3 separate regions of the Homo sapiens genome follow, and regions 1 and 2 are each linked to region 3. The links are contacts of gene promoters, found by promoter capture Hi-C in blood cells and fetal thymus (Javierre and others, 2016). All regions are on one chromosome and are shown on one strand. Each heading gives the region's core, a stretch centred on a gene start or on the middle of the fragment in contact. The rest is flanking DNA. Distances are from core to core; before and after follow the strand shown.

Region 1 (3,403 bases), core at 511-3,010, 590 kb after region 3:
AAAGAAAAATTTTTTAAAAACCCAGCATATCAAAGTCCTTCAATACATATGATGCTGTAATGGGTCATTCCTTTGGGCTTTAGTTTTATCCCAGATATACCTATTGAACACCAAAGAGGCTACTGGGGCTGTTCTACACTTCGGTTGGAGCAAGTGCGAGGATGATGGATCAGTATAACTGCCCTTGCCCCAGAAATTGGAAATAATCATGCCTGATCTAAAACAGGATCAGTGGGTGGAGTTATAGAGAGAACAGCACACCAGCTTCTAACTCTGTACCTCCACTTCCACTTCCTCCCCCCAGTATTTTCTTCAGTCAGATTTAAACATTACTTCTTGTTAAAGTCATGTCTGTTTCTTGTAGAACTTTGCGAAGTGCAGAAAATTATTCAGAAGTAATGTTGAGAAGGAGTGGTGGAGAATGAAACACAATTCTACCTCTCGGAGACAAAACCATATGGAATGTCAAAAAAAAATATTTACAGTGAGGAAACCTGGCAGACACCAATTTAATCAAGTGATAAAGTTAACATCATGGAACAAACTCACATTTTGTAGCTCCAGATATGATGCACTGAAATGGGTATGACATCACTTCTGTGGTATTCCTGCCAAAAGGGAGGAATCTAATTACCTAAATCTAATAACCTAAATCTAATCATGAGGAAATACCAGATGAACAGGTTAAAGAAAAATAAAATTGGAGGCCACAGTTTGGATATTTCCCTAGGCCAACAACCCACAGCCATGTGTAGTCAAAACCTAAACTATCCTGATTTCCCTGAAAATGCTAGCCCTAACCATAACACACTTTTTCTTCCTTGTCAGCGTAATAACATTAAGCCAATACAAACAAGCTTATGCAGCTTTATTTGCACAACAGAGATCAACGTACTTCCTCATTTAGGAAGCTGCACAGAGGTCTCTAGTTTGGGAACTGTTATTTTGTATGCTCAATAATCTTTTTGAGAATTTAAATTTAATCTGATTTTATTTTTGGCAAACCCAAATTCAAGGATATTGTACAAAACAACTGGCCTGTATTCATAAAAAATATCAGCATCATCAGCATCTTTTTAAAAACGGAGGAATCAGGCTGGGTGCAGTGGCTCACACCTGTAATCCCAGCACTTTGGGAGACTGAGGCGGGCGGATCACTTGAGGTCAGGAGTTTGAGACCAGCCTGGCCAACATGGTGAAACCTCCGTTTCTACAAAAAAGAAAGAAAAGAAAACTAGCCAGGCGTGGTGGCATGCGCCTGTAATCCCAGCTACTTGGGAGGCTGAGGCATGAGAATCACTTGAATACAGGAGGCAGAGGTTGCAGTAAGCCAAGATTACACCACTGCACTCCAGCCTGGGTGACAGAGTGAGACTTCATTTCAACAACAACAACAACAACAACAACAAATAATAATAATAATAATAATAATAAAAACAAAACAGAGGAATCAATACAAATTAAGTGACCTAAGAGTCAATGCAATGTGTACTACAGTGTTTTCTTTTTCTTTTTCTTTTTCTTTTTTTTTTTTTGAGATGGAGTTTCGCTCTTGTTGCCCAGGCTGGAGTGCAAAGGCACGATCTCAGCTCACTGCAACCTCCACCTCCTGGGTTCAAGCGATTCTCCTGCCCCAGCCTCCCCAGTAGCTGGGACTACAGGTGCATGCCACCATGCCCAGCTAATTTTTTTTTTATTCTTAGTAGAGATGGGGTTTCACCATGTTGGCCAGGCTGGTCTCAAACTCCTGACCTCAAATGATCCGTCCGCCTCAGCCTCCCAAAGTGCTGGGATTACAGGCGTGAGCCACTGCGCCTGGCCACTACAGTGTTTTCTTTTGGAACAATTGTTGAAAGTCAAAGTAGGTCTGTAGAATAAATAATAGTATGTATCAGTGTTAACTTCACAATCTTCAAAAATATTCTGTGGGCAAGTGATAAAATCTCCTTGTTTTAGGAAATATGCAGTGACATAGTTAGAGGTAAAAAAAAAGGCATCATGTCTGCAGCCTGCTTTCAAATGGTTCCAAAAGAAAATGTGAGTGTATGCATGTGTGAGTGTGTGTGTGTACACATATATATCTATATCTGCATGAGGAGAGGGAGAGAGAGAAAGATAAAGCAAATGCGATAAAATAGAAACATTTGGGCTGGGCGTGGTGACTCATGCCTGTAATCCCAGCACTTTGGGAGGCTAAGGTGGGTGGATCACCTGAGGTCAGGAGTTTGAGATCAGCCTGGCCGACACGGTGAAACTCCGTCTCTACTAAAAATACAAAAATTAGCCTGGTATGGTGGAGCGCCTGCAATCCCAGCTACTCAGGAGGCTGAGGCAGTAGAATCGCTTGAACCTGGGAGGCTGAGGTTGCAGTGAGCTGAGATTGCACCCCTGCACTCCAGCCTGGGCGACAGAGCGAGACTCTGTTTCAAAAAAGAAAGAAAGAAAGAAAGAAAGAAAGAAAAGAACAAAGAAACATTTGGGAAATCTAGGTGAAGGGTACTATTCTTGCAGCTTTTCTGTAAGTTTGAAGTTATAGCAAAACAAAACATTTTAAAATTATGTGTTTTTCTATAGTATCAGCCTAAATAAGGAACAGAGAGAGGCTCTATAAAAGAAAAAGATATTTATTTTGGAATAAGCCATTGCAATGGGAGTAAGCTTTTTAAAGGAAAACATGAGGAGTATTATGTAATTGTTTTGAAATAATTATCCTTGGCTACAAAGATGAATAACATGGGTGATGCCAGTCCAGGGTTCCATAGGCAGTTGCTGGACACATGTTCTTGCAGAAGTATTTTTTGTGTAAGGTTGTGATGGCCTTTGTGCAAGGTTGTAGTTTTGGTAGTCTTTTTTTTTTTTTTTACGGACTCTCTGTTGCTCAGGCTGGAGTGTAATGGCGCGATCTGGGCTCACTGCAACCTCCCCCTCCCAGGTTCAAGTGATTCTCCTGCTTCAACCTCCTGAGTAGCTGGGATTATAGGCACCAGCCACCATGTCCGGCTAATATTTGTATTTTTTAGTAGAGACAGGGTTTCACCATGTTGGCCAGGCTGGTCTTGAACTCCTGACCTCGTGATCCACCTGCCTCAGCCTCCCAAAATGCTGGGATTACAGGCGTGAGCCACTGCACCAGGCCAATTTTGGCAGTCTTTTGTGACACTTTTTGTTATCAGGAATACAAGCCTGAAAACACTCTCTTCATAGCCTTCCCAGCTCTATTTGTAAGAGTTTTTTTTTTTCTTTCTTCTTTTTTACCATTAGTGACTCCTTTTTGATTATGACAACTTTCACAATAGCTAATACAGGCCTAAGGTACGAAACGCAAAAGATGCAAAAGGGTGTACAATAAATATTCACCTCCATCATCTCTGTCCTCAAGCCAACAACTTTTCTTGCCTAGAGG
Region 2 (3,646 bases), core at 1,005-3,504, 550 kb after region 3:
CTTAGAAAATGTGAGTTTATTCATTATAATATAATAGATGTTATGAGAGCTAAGTTGTAGAATGATAAATGGATGTTGATTAGGCCTGATTTATCAACTCGTTTATTAGTAAGAATTTACTGAGCACCTACTTTGTCCCTAACAATGAGCTTGGCTATGAAAGAAAAATAACAGAAATATAGGCTATAGTTCCCGCTTTCAATCTGTAGGGTTTTGTTTGTTTGTTTGTTTTTGAGACCAGGTTTTGCTCTTGTCGCCCAGGCTGGAGTGCAATGACATGATTTCGGCTCACTGCAAACTCTGCCTCCTGGGTTCAAGTGATTCTCCTGCCTCAGCCTCTCGAGTAGCTGGGATTACAGGTGTGCACCACCACACCCTGCTCATTTTTGTATTTTTTAGTAGAGACGGGGTTTCGCCATGTTGGCCAGGCTGATCTCGAAGTCCTGACCTCAGCTGATCCGCCCAACCTCGGCCTCCCAAAGTGCTGGGATTACAGGTGTGAGCCACTGTGCCCAGCCCAATTTGTAGTTTTTTAAATTGAAATACTACCAATGACAACAACATAAAGAAAAATCAGTCACTTAACCTTGTTGTTCAATCAAGGCAAATTATCCATATCATTCGCTTTGTGACCATGGACAGGCTGCTCATGATCTCTGAGCCTCAGTTCCTCTTCTATAAGATGGAGCCAACGAGTGCTTATTTTGCTGGGCTGCCATGAGAGTGTGCTGAGCTAAAGAATGTAAAAGTGTTCAGCGTGGTATTTGGCCCCTAGAGGGGTCAGGAGAGGTGGATTTCCTTTCTTTTTTTCCCGCAGTTTCATTTTTTAAAGAACTGAAAACCTTTCCCTGTCAGTGTCTCATTTGGTTAGGGTGACATGCTGAAAGTTGTTCAGACCCTTCCAGTTCAAGATCACATGCATCTCTCCCCACACCTCCCTACAACATCCTTCCTGGTGGGATAGTTGCTTTTAAAACATTCTGCAGTAACTTCATTCTGTGCACAGGACTATCCCTTTCTCCTCCACCCCTTTGGCCGGGCAGCTCTAGGTCTCCAGCCCTGGCTCGTGAAATCAACCATCAAGAGAGGAGAGGTGCGAGGGTCAGGCAGTGCACTGGCCGACTGAGGTCCTGGAATCAATGCTGCAGACCCACCTGTTGTTTCCCCAGAGCTTTTTTTGTTTTTTGAGAAAGGGCCTCCCTCTGTCACCCAGGCTGAAGTGTGGTAGCACGATCAGGCTCACTGCAGCCTCAGCCTCCTGGACTCAAGTGATCCTCCACCTCTCAGTCTCCTGAGTAGCTGGGACTACAGGTACATGCCACCATGCCCAGCTAATTTGTGTATTTTTTTCTAGAGACAGGTTTTCATTATGTTGCTCAAACTGGTCTCCAGAGCCTTTGAGGGGCATTTGGAACCCTCTTGGCCTACGAGCTGGGCTTCTGAGGACTGTGACCAGTGTTCAAGTGTTGACACCCTCACAGTGCACACTTAGAACTCCCCAAGTGATCTGTACTTTCCATGCTCTTTTTCCCCTGGTACTTTTCCCTCTGCCTAGAAGGCCCCTCCCACCCCTCAGCTCCTTTAGCATCCATCCTTAAAATAACTCAAATATCATCACCCTGTGAAATTCCCCCTTCCCCACTTCCACTTCAGGTAAAATGAGAGACTTCCTCCTCTTAGTTCCCTGAAACTCTATTCATTGTTCCCCAAACTTCATCAATGCACTTGTCACACATTTTGCCATCCCCAAGGCAAAGTCTATGGCTCCTTCACGTCTCTTCTCTAGTGCTCACCCCGACTTCGCATATAGTATATCTTTAGCAATGTTTGATAAACAAATGTATCAATGAAGGAGAAAATCTAAATTTTGCAGAGAACTCTGGGTCAAAGTGCCAAAAAGTAGATCACAGGTTCCTTTTGCTATGTCCAGAACAAAGCTTTCTTGATTTAGTCACAACAATGCTGAGCGAAAAGGACATGATTGATGCTGAAGACAAAATCCACATCCTGAACAGCTGGGACTATGAAACTTCCACGGTGTGTTTTGCAGAAGTGGACAGGGGGACCTTAGGACCCCATGGTTATTGGCATGCTGGCGTCCTGGGCAGGATGAATTGGGCTGGTTGGTGCCAGACCCCCGTATGTCTGCAGAAAGGTAGACATGTTGGTGGACCCACAGTTTTGCTAAGGAGGATGTTAAGGTTCCTTGACGGATTAACAAAGGACCACAGAGCCTAAAATATTTCTGGAAAAAAGTTTACCAAAGACGATTTTATTTCCTTTAAGAATATTCAGTAACACTACAATTCTACAGAATAAAGTGGTACAATTGTCTAAGCCTCATTCCATAGCATAAATTGTGTAAAACTTGGAATCTTTTTTTTTCTTGGAAAGAGACACTTAATAGGGATGTATGAACAGAAGCCATGTCTGTCTTGAATGGTGATGAGACAAGATGGTATATCCCCACGCCATTAACCCTGAGACCCAGGGCTTAAATACCATATGGAAAGGGTGAGTCAGAAGAGATGTGTAGGACAATTGAAGTATGATCATGTCAAGTCAAGCTTGTAATCTTAAGAAAACTAAATATCCCCCTGTCCTTTTGTTTACATGAATCCACCTAACAGATACTTTTCCTTTACTCTAAAGATAGACATCATGGCTAGACATAGTAGCTTATACCTCAAGCCTCATTCCTTGTCAACCCAACACCTTGAGAGGTCAAGTAGGGAAGATCTCTTGAGGTCAGGAGTTCAAGACTAGCCTGGGCACCATAGTGAGATCCCATCTCTATAAAAAAATTTTTTTTAAATTAGCTGGCTGTGGTGCCACGTGCTTGTAGTCCCAGCTACTTGGGAGGCTCAGGCAGGAGGATCACTTGAGCCCAGCAGGTTGAGGCTGCAGTGAGCCAAGATCTTGCCACTGCACACCAGCCTGGGCGACAGAGGGAGACCCCAACTCAAAAAAAAAGCTAGACATCAGCTTAGTCCTAGTCAATGTTTCACTAATTTTGACTCAGTCAAAATGGAAAGAATTCTGAGTACAGCTTCCAGACTCTGTCCTGTGTGTCCTTAAGATGAACTCAGAGTGAATGTGAGCACCCTGCTTACGGAAGGCCTCATTTTTTGATTAGCCCTAGAAAGCGCAGATTCTTGTGGAACAGCAGTGGCCCTGCCCATCAGGGACGGGTTCACAGGTGTTCTGCCTGTGCATCCGGAAGGGCTCAGACTTGTTTTCATGCTTTGCTGTTGCCCCATGAAATTCTTGATTTTTGAACACATGGCCCGGCACTTTCATTTTTTACTAAGCCCCAAAAATTCATTATGTAGCCAGTCCTGCTTCCCATCAATGGTTATAGGTTTCAGCTGCATTTCAGGGAATGTGAAAGTAAATTCTCACATAATGAATTTTTGTTCTATACCCACACATCCCATGGAGGAAAATGTAGGGCAGGATCTTGCTTTGTCTCACCTACAAACTACATGCATCTGCGGTAGATGCTTAACTCTTCTGAGCCTCTTTGTTCTCAGCTGTAAAATGGTCTGTTAATATCGATTCTGTCTCGGGGTCGTTGTAAGGATCAAGTGAGGCAATGTCAGTGAAAGCATGCACGTGGCGAATTCTGAAACTCTCACAGAAATGC
Region 3 (3,442 bases), core at 252-2,751:
TTTCCCACCTCAAATTTCTCTCTTCCATTCTTCATCTCAGTAAACAGCACCACCACCTACTCAGTTGCTCAAAACAAAAATCAAAAAAGCAAAGATTCCCACCATTCCCTCACCAATCCAAGTCTTGTTCATTCTACCTTAAAACATTTAAAAATCTGTTTATACTTCCCCATCTCCCTGCCACGGGCCTAGTCCAAGCTACTGCAAAGAGCACAGTAACTGACCTCGTAGGTTCCTCCCCAGCCCTCTTCCTCTACATAGCAGTCGGATCATGCTACTCGCCTTCTCAAAACCTTCAAAGGCTTCCCGGGAAAAACTAAACTCCTTATCAGGGCATCATCTGCCCTATCTTTTAAAGAGTATACACAAACAGGAATATACATCCAAGGGTAGTATCTCTAGATCGTAAAACTGCGGGCATTTTTCTCTGGCTTTGCTTGTATTTTTAAATTTTTCTACGCTGAATACCCTCTACTCATTAAGAAAGGGGAAATGATATTGCTGAATTCTATATAATATTATACCGCATTTTTTACATGTGAGCGAGAAAAGGGAATGGAAAACGTGGGTCAACTCTGTAACTGCTGAATGCTTAGATGAAAATACTAGCCAACATCAAACTAAAAAAAAATGATGTGTCAGGCCTGTAAGATTGCTGATGGCATTTCTCTTCCTCTGGTTTCTATTTCTTAACATAATCACATTCATGATGGAGAAAACCTCATTGTCTTCTGCAGTCTGGCCACAGCCCTTCAAGCCAGCCTTTCCTGCAGGAGTCCTCACTTTCCGAGGCTTCCACTCCGCCCCGCACTGCCCGCAGCTCCGGCGCGTTGGCCCCGGCCCCATCCCTGGACCCCCAAAGCCTCTCTGACCCCTCCCCTCCATCCCAGGGAGGCCCGGTGGGGATGGCGACAGGTTGGAGGGGCATTCCAGGATCCTTTCGGTAAACCCACGACTTTCTGGTGCTGGGGCCAAATCTTGCCTCCAAGGCCAAGAGCTTAACATCCTAAAAGCTCCGGCCGCTGTGGCTCGGGGTCCCGTATCCCCTCAGCGCAGCGCCCCGCTGAAGAGGAAGCCCCCAACTCACGTTCCAATTCCAGGCTCCCGCTTCTGCGGCTCCCCGGCCCGCACCTGGGATCCTCCCTGCCCTCCCCTCGGCCCCGGGGCCTCACCGGGTCCCGCTGCCGCGCTGCCTGCCGATGGGGGAGGGGCGCGCACGTGCCCGCGCCGCCCCCGCCCAAACAATGCCCCGGAGAGCGGGGCGCGCTCCCGGCCGGTCCCTTCCTGCGCCCGCCAACACTCACCCTTTCTCCGGGTCTCCGGCTGCAGCGCGGGCCCCGCCGGCCGCCGCGAGAGAGCACGGCGAGGTGAGAGAGCGGGCGAAGCCCCGCGGAGCTGCCCCGCCACAAGGCCCCAGCGACCCCCGCAACCTGCGGAAGCACACGGCGCGGTGGAGCCCGCCCGGCGCGTTCCGCCCCGCACGTCAGCAGCTGGGCGCGTCGGGGCGCGCGCGGCGGCGCGCGCGGCCTCGGGGCGGAGCTCCCAGGGATGAGGGCGGGGCGGGGCGGGGCGGGGCTGGTCCGGGCTGGGACCCCGGCCCGCGAGGGCACTTCCTGGGCAGTGTGGGCGTCGATTCTTGCAAAGGCACAGTCGTCCATCACTTTCCTGCCCCAGAAGATGGCGAATTTCAACCCCAAGTTTGACAGAATATTCATTCTGCCGGCGTGTATGAGCTTCCCTATTAATCACAATAGTGACTATGATGTTTGTGTGTGCCATCTTTGTGCCAACCCATGTGCTAAGTGCTGGGTATACAAAATAACAGTAGTTATTTCTAGCCCATTTTACAGATGAAGAAACTGAGGCAGGGAAGGCTTGAGACTTATCTCAGTCACACTAGCTAGTGACAATCCAAGTCCAGTTTTCCACCTAAATATCACTTGAGGCCAACATTCTCTTTCGTTGTAACTCTACCACCCTACCCAAGACCCTGTAATCTCTCTGCCCAAGACTATGAATAGCCTCCCAACTGGTCTTGGGGAACTTCTGTTCCCCTTCAATCCCTTCTCACTGTATAACGATTTACTACTGGAGCTGAGTGGTGGGTTTAGGAAGTTCACTTTTTTTTTTATACTTTACATACATGTTACCAAATTTTTAATGTATTTAATGTTTTTATCAACGCATAATAAATATAAGTGGTGTTTTGTTTTTTGTGTTTTTTTTTTTTTTTGAGATAGAGTCTCCCTCTGTTGCCAGGCTGGAGTGCAGTGGCATGATCTTGGCTCACTGCAGCCTCCGCCTCCCGGGTTCAAGCGATTCTCCTGCCTCAGCCTCCCAAGTAGCTGGGATTACAAGGCGCGCGCCACCACGCCTGGCTGATTTTTGTATTTTTAGTAGAGACAGGGTTTCACCATGTTGGCCAGGCTGCTCTCGAACTCCTGACCTTAGGTGATCCACCCGCCTCAGCCTCCCAAAGTGCTGGGATTACAGGCGTGAACCACCACCCCCAGGCTAATTTTGGTTTTTTTAGACAGGTCTCACTATCACCACAGCTAGTCTCACACTTCCGGGCTCGAGAGATCCTCCTGGCTGGGCACGGTGGCTCATGCCTGTAATCCCAGCACTTTGGGAGGCTGAGGCGGGCGGATCACCTGAGGTCAGGAGTTCAAGACCAACCTGGCCAACATGGTGAAACCCCGTCTCTACTAAAAATACAAAAATTAGCCAGGTGTATTTGGGCATGCCTGTAATCCTAACTACTTGGGAAGCTGAGGCAGGACAGTCACTTGAACTCGGGAGGTGGAGGTTGCAGTGAGCCATTGCACTCCAACATGGGCAACAAAAGTGAAACTCCATCTCAAAAAAAAAAAAAACTAAGAAAGGCTTCCTTGAACCTTAAGCTAAGACTCAAGAGATAATAGGAACTGGGGAGATAAACAAATTTCATGGAGAAGGGGGTGAGGTCACAGGTCAGGATGAGTGTGTTGGTGTTCCCCTACTCTTAGGGTTTAACAGTGAGGTGGAAAGCATAGAAATACCCAGATAAGTGCCAAGAAAGCTAGAAGCTGACTTCCCTTGGTGTAGCTTGGAAGGCTGTCCAAGTCTGTGAGAAGGCTCACACAGTAGGGCTTGGGAGCAGGCCATGGCGTTGGGAGGAGTCTGCAATAGTGCTGCTGGAGCGCTGCAGCTTGCACATTTAGGTATGTCAGAATTCCAGACTTCTCTTGTTGCTCCCTGCCTGGCATGCAGAAAGTAGCATGGTTAAGAGCCATGGACAGACCAATAGGCACTGTGCCAGGGGGCAGGTTTCCTAAAGCAGAGGCCTTGTGGTGGGCTGATGGCCAGGGAATGGCTACAGAACGTAGCTAAGACCCCAAGGATAGGCAGTACTGAAGATACCAGTGGAGCTGAAGCACCCCTAAGTCAGCTGGTGAGAGGA

What was found. Contacts are between HindIII fragments. The CHiCAGO score rates a contact against its expected background, and 5 or more counts as called.
Region 1: a fragment that was not itself captured here is called in contact with the fragment with the promoter of YEATS2 in region 3 in 1 of 17 cell types (naive CD8 T cells); the score reaches 5.1 in naive CD8 T cells.
Region 2: a contact is called between a fragment that was not itself captured here and the fragment with the promoter of YEATS2 in region 3, in 1 of 17 cell types (erythroblasts). The highest score is 5.4, in erythroblasts.

The regions. Positions count from the first base shown.
Region 1 is chr3:183,105,541-183,108,943 of GRCh38, reverse strand. It overlaps LOC105374247 (a long non-coding RNA gene), which reads right to left and starts at 719. Exons shown (of 3, transcript XR_924772.3): 1 at 550-719. It also overlaps a transcript of MCCC1 not described here. The HindIII fragment of the contact is 1,801 bases long and covers 860-2,660 here.
Region 2 is chr3:183,142,445-183,146,090 of GRCh38, reverse strand. All of the region lies in intron 3 of LAMP3 (lysosomal associated membrane protein 3), which reads left to right. Among named protein-coding and RNA genes, the nearest start is that of LAMP3, 18 kb to the left of the region's middle. The HindIII fragment of the contact is 630 bases long and covers 1,940-2,569 here.
Region 3 is chr3:183,695,856-183,699,297 of GRCh38, reverse strand. YEATS2 (YEATS domain containing 2) reads right to left here and starts at 1,501. Exons shown (of 31, transcript NM_018023.5): 1 at 1,305-1,501. RefSeq lists a silencer at 1,127-1,596. The HindIII fragment of the contact is 10,471 bases long and covers 1-3,442 here.